2 separate regions of the Homo sapiens genome follow, and region 2 is linked to region 1. Evidence: promoter capture Hi-C in human tissues and cell types (Jung and others, 2019). All regions are on one chromosome and are shown on one strand. The core of a region is centred on a gene start or on the middle of the fragment in contact, and the rest is flanking DNA. Distances in the headings are between cores, read along the strand shown. Region 1 holds the start of FNDC5 (fibronectin type III domain containing 5). Region 2 overlaps RNF19B (ring finger protein 19B).

Region 1 (2,883 bases), core at 158-2,657:
GAACAGAAGTATCCTCAGAGCTGTGGTGGCCCAGGCAGAATAAAGCCTGCGGAAGAGTCTGTGTGAGCCTCTTATCCATGCTCTTCCAGCCCCAAGATGCAGGTGGGGAGGTGGCAGGGGAAGATGGGGTCACTCAGAGCAGGGCCCCTCCATGGCGAGTGGAGAGGAGAGAACAGGTAGGGGAAGAGGATGAATGAGGAATCACTCCAGAAGAGACAGGAGGGAAGTGGGGGTGAGAGTGATAGGGATAGTGGGGGTCAGTGAGGAAAACCGTCCAGGAGAGGGGCAGTGCAGTCACATAAGGCTCAGTATCTTCCAAGGGGCAGGTGCAGCACGGGGCAGAGCTGCGCCTGAGCAGCACCCCTCACCCCACAGAGAGTGAACTTGAGACCCAGGGGGCTGGGCCTGGGACCTGAGGGAGACAGAGCCAGACATGGAGGGGGAGGTGGAGAGACAGGACACAGACAGGTGGTGGCAGACACAGAACCAGAGGACAGAGAAGTGGGGCATCTGAGAAAGACAGCTGCGAGAGAGCGCTCCCCGAGCCACGGAGGGAGAGATGAGCCGGGCAGCGGCAGCCAGGAGGGACAAAGACAGAGTGGCAGGAGAGGCTGGGCAAGGACGGGCCGGCCCCATGGGGCAGGCCAGACACTGTACCAGATCAGGGGTGCCGGGGCCCACCCCACGCCCTGCGCCCTCAGGTGCCAGCCCCCATCCCCTTCACACGTGCTCCTGCACAGCGGGACCCCATCTGCCCCTGCAGAGTTGGCTTGCAGGGCTTTGAGAGGTCCTGGGGACACAGAGAGAGGCCCAGGTGGGGGAACTGGTGTCCTCAGCTGCTCCCTGGGTCAAAGAAGGGAGCTAGGGAAGCTGAGGCAAAGACCTGGGGTTAGGGGAATGGGATTAGGGGACTGGGGACCACAAGACCCTAGGAAACCCAGGGCTGAGGTGACAGGGGAGATTTGGAAACTGAAGGACAGGTCTGGGGGTCAAGGAGGTAGGAAGACGCTGGGGGCTGGGTTAGGGGAGCAGTGTTTGGGCCGAGACAGGAGTCCCTAGGGGGCAGAGAAAGGACCAGGGGACTCCCAGGTAGCTGGGCTCGAGAGGAGCCTGCCCCGGCGCCGGCCCCCCGCCCCGGGCCCCCTTACCCGCCTGCACCAGCGCGAAGCAGACGCAGCCCAGCCACAGGCGGAGCGCGGCGCGGGCGCGGGGCGGCCAGGCGCTCGGCGACCCGGGGTGTATGGTGGCTCCTCCGGCCGGCAGGCCCGGGGCGGCGCAGGGGGACGCGGCTCCGGCGCCCGGCGGCCGCTCGCGCTCGCGCTCCGGCCCCCGGCCCGGCCGGCCCGGCCGCTCCGGCCGCCCTGCGCCGCCCCGAGCCGCCTGCATGTCGGCTCCGCGGACAGCGACTCCCGCGCGGCGGCGGTGGCGGCGGCCGCGTCCACGTCGGGCGCCCGGGGGGCGGGGCGCCCCCGCTGCGGGGAGAGGTGCGGGGGCGGGGTGAGGACCGGAGGGCGCCCCCACTCCCGCCCCCGCTGCCTATTAGGTCCTCTGCCGGGGAGGAAGGGGCTTCGCGGACCCACGGCTCCCGCCCTCTCACCGAGCGGGAGCCCAGCGGGGTTCTCCGCGCCCCCGCCGCGGTCACTCTCTCTCCCGTGCACAGCCCTGACTTGGCTGCCGCTTTCTGCCCTTTCCCAGGGTAGAGAGAGGACAAGTGCCACCGAGATGCCCGTTTGTGCCCCCACCCCTAAGCGCGCCTCCCTTCCCTGGGCCTAGGGATCCCCTCATTCCACGGTAGACCCGAGGCCTTGCGGCTGGGGCAGACGGGAGCAGAGGGGAGAGATCACAGTAAGGCTGGGGTGAGCAGAGAGTGCTAAGTGGACACTAGGGCTCCGTGTTTCCAGTGGGGTTGGGAAGAGGCTGCTCTGTCTCACTGGAGAGTCCAGCTCTGTGACCCCAGGCCAGTCCTTTTCCTTCATTTTCATCCCCATAGTGAGGGCAGTAATGAGCGTCTACCAGGGGCCAGATACTATGCTGAGCTTTCTTTGCATTATGTGGCTTAATTCTCAGGGCAACCCTGTAAAGTCATACTCTGCACACTTTGCACAGGAGGAGCCTGCAGCTTGGACAGGCTACTTGACTTGTCCAGGGACCCGCAGCAGAGCCAGGATTTGAACACAGGCTGATCTGACTCCCAAAGCTGTGCTTAACTGAACTGTCTCCCCACCCAGAGTGACTTCACCCATCCGGAGATTCGTGAGACTCTAGAATTGGCCGGGGCCAGCTCCTCCCCAGCCAGAAAACAGTCTGCAGCAATCTCTAAGAGCATCTCTGAGAAGGGGAGTGGCTCCAGCCCCCTTCCCTCATCTCAGCCAGAGAAACAAGGTGGAGGAGAGAGGCATGGACCAGGGCTCAGGGCCTTTTGTCTCAGCAAGAACCCCTGAGCCCCCTCCCACGACTATCCGAAATTCCACTACTAGCGGGGCATTCCTTTGGGTCTTAAAGGTTTTCCAGAAGCCCTGGAAGGGCTAATTTTCTTTGGAAAGGAGACGTCTTGCAAAGTTCTGCCACAGAAACGTCTTCAGGGTCTTCCTCTCCATCCCCCTGGTTTTACATTAAGGAAGTGAGGTCTACCGATGGGAAGAGCTTGGTGCAGATTCACACAGTGGGTCAAGAGGAGCGATAGACAACCCTCCTCTCCTTATGCCCACCCAGGACTCCTTCGCTGGCCCTGTGTTCCTCCTTGGTCACCTTGGAAGGGGTGAGATGGAAGCGAGCTTAGGGGCTCTTGTTGAGCAGCAGAATTTTCCTGCCCATCCCCTCAGTGCCCCCAGACCTGCCCCACTCGGCAGGGTGACACTGCCCAGCCCTATCATTTCCCCCGCC
Region 2 (2,883 bases), core at 172-2,671, 70 kb after region 1:
GGCTTTCACAGAACTAGAACAGCTGGACTGGCTAAGCTGCAGTTTCAGCAAGTCAGTCTCCAATTATGTCTGTCTGCTTATTTACAGGGGTGTTGGTTTTAAGAAAGCACAGCAGTGAATATGCCAGCATGTGGGGGCGGGATCCCCTGATAAGAGACAACCAGAGTCATGAGATGCACAGACGGGTCAGTAGCAGCCTGCAGCTGCACATTCAAGCAGCTTCCATCCTACTGCCTGAGCCTTTGCTTTGCTGCTCCAGCTTCAGGTGCCCTTCAAAAATGTGCCAAGGCCCAGGGAAATGAGGGAATGCAATGGAAAGTGCACAGTGTCAGAGACCTGGCTTCTAGTTTCAGGTCTGCCACAGAATCACTCTGAGTTGGAAGAGTCTTTCAGAAAGGGCTCCTACTTAGGTGGTTGTCAGATGCTGGTTCATGCAACGGCTGTGCTAGAATTACCTGGGGAGCTTTTGCAAAACACGGATCACCCCCTAGGTGCCACTCCAGGAAATTCTAAGCTACTCATTCTGGGATGGGTCCCTGAAGTCTATTTTTAAGAGGCTCCCAAGTGATTGACAGGCACTCAGGTGGGAGATCCAGTCCACCTGCCATCTGTTGCTTGAATCCTTCTTATAGCCAAATAGCCATCTGGTCTCATTGTAAACATTTCCAGGGATAGGCAGCTCAGTATCTACTAAAGTAGCCTTTTTCCTCTTTGGGCTTTCATGTTGCTTTTCCCTATATTCTCTATACTGAACCAAAATTAGTTTCCCTTTAGCTTCTGCCAAGTCATCTTAATCTACCTTTTGGTATGAGGCATAGAAGTCTAATCCTTTTCACAGTTGAAGGTCCTTTGGATAGCTGAAGGCAACCATCTCCTCTACCTTCCTATCCTGCTTTGTTCTACCTTTACCCCTCCCTAGGCCTTTCTTCTCCGTTGCATTCAACTGCTTCTCAGGCAACATGTTATGCTCCTCTGAAAATATACACTCTGGTCTGCCTAACTAGTGAAATGACCAAGCAAGTCACAATCTTTTTAGTTACAAAGCTTTACATATTTTCAACACAAGTACATAGAATTGATTTTCCTTATCTAGCAAATGGAAATAGAAAGGTAATAAGGATTGCAGTATCACTAAACCAGCTGGGGGCAATGGTTCATGCCTATAATCCTAGCACGTTGGGAGCCAAGTTGGGAGGATGGCTTCAGGCCAGGAGTTTAAGACCAGCCTGGGTAACCGAGCAAGACCCCATCTCTACAAAAAATTTAAAATGTTAGCTGGGTGTGGTGTGTGCACTTGTAGTCCTAGCTACTCAGGAGGCTGAGGTGGTAGGATTGCCTGAGTCCAGGAAGTTGAGGCTGCAGTGAGCCATGATTGTGCCACTGCATTCCAGCCTGGATGACACAGTGAGAAAAAAAACAAAAAAAAATCCCCAAAGCCCACTATCAATAAACCATGATGGGCTGGGTGTGGTGGTTCATGCTTGTAATCCCAGCACTTTGGGAGGCTGAGGCGGGTGGATCACAAGGTCAGGAGCTTGAGACCAGCCTGGCCAACATGAAACCCTGTCTCTACTGAAAATACAAAAATTAGCCAGGCATGGTGGTGCACGCCTGTAGTCCCAGCCTCTTGGGAGGCTGAGGCAGGACAATCACTAGAACCCAGGAGGTGGAGGCTGCAGCGAGCCAAGATTGCACCATTGCACTCCAGCCTGGGCGACAGAGCAAGACTCCGTCTCAAAAAAATAAAATAAAATAAATAAGCCATGATACAGCATAAATGCTACTGAAAGCCAATGACAAGCCTAACGGAGAGCATTTTACGAATTCTATAAAAATGCCTACTCTCCCTTCCTGAAGCAGGCAGCCTCAGGCAGTCAAGGGGGAATCTCAAGTCAGGATTATTCTTTATATAGAGGCAGCTATGGTGCAATGGAAAGAACAATGAACTTTGCATAACTGACGTAACCTTTTTTTCTAAGCTTGTTTCCTATTTGTAAAAGTAAAAAAAAAAAGGCCTGTCGCAGTGACTCATGCCTGTAATCCCAACGGTTTGGGAGGCCAAGGCGGGCGGATCACGAGGTCAGGAGATTGAGACCATCCTAGCTAACATGGTGAAACTCCATCTCTACTAAAAATACAAAAAATTAGCTGGGCGTGGTGGCGGGTGCCTGTAATCCCAGCTACTCAGTAGGCTGAGGCAGGAGAATCGCTTGAACCCAGGAGGCGGAGCTTGCAGTGAGCCGAGATCACGCCATGGCACTCCAGCCTGAGCCACAGAGTGAGACTCTGTCTTTAAAAATAAAAAAGTAAAAACAAAACAAAACAAAACCATTGACAATTAAATCAAAATAAGATGATACGTGGCACAAGCCTGGCACAGAGAAATGGCTCAATGTGTTACTTCTTATAATTCTAACCATTTCTGTCAGAAATTATCTATTTGTTTACCTGCTATATTTTCCCTTGCCACTGGAGAGAATGCCGCCACTCAGCGTGCCCCCTGAGAGGGCTGCAAAGCTGGCCGTTTCGCTGTAAGGACCTTGCATAACACTAAGTCCATCTGTAGGGCTTCCACTAGTGCTCAATACACTAGTCAGGCCTTCAATGCTGCTTTCCCCAATGCTGGGATTCTTGAGGGCTCTCCAGGCATCTGCCACTGGGGATAGAACCAAACATCCAATTCAAGACAGCAGAGCATCAAAACAGTCAGTAGGCATTTTCCTGCAATGACTTTTCAGAGAACTAATGTATTTACTTAATGAACAGGTACTGTGTGCAGTCGCCACATATCAGGTGTTTTAACATATGTTCATATTTAATCCTCCAAATAACTAGGCATTAATAGCCTCAATTTTAGATGAGAAAACTAAAATTTAAAACTAA

What was found. Contacts are between HindIII fragments. The study calls those that stand out against the background at their distance.
Region 2: a contact is called between a fragment that was not itself captured here and the fragment with the promoter of FNDC5 in region 1, in 2 of the 25 tissues and cell types used here (heart left ventricle and mesenchymal stem cells).

What each region holds. Positions count from the first base shown.
Region 1 is chr1:32,869,505-32,872,387 of GRCh38, forward strand. It overlaps FNDC5 (fibronectin type III domain containing 5), which reads right to left and starts at 1,408. Exons shown (of 6, transcript NM_001441683.1): 1 at 1,149-1,408. The coding sequence starts at 1,386. The HindIII fragment of the contact is 14,778 bases long and covers 1-2,883 here.
Region 2 is chr1:32,939,804-32,942,686 of GRCh38, forward strand. It overlaps RNF19B (ring finger protein 19B), which reads right to left. Exons shown (of 9, transcript NM_001300826.2): 7 at 2,449-2,656. Among named protein-coding and RNA genes, the nearest start is that of RNF19B, 24 kb to the right of the region's middle. The HindIII fragment of the contact is 3,693 bases long and covers 1-2,883 here.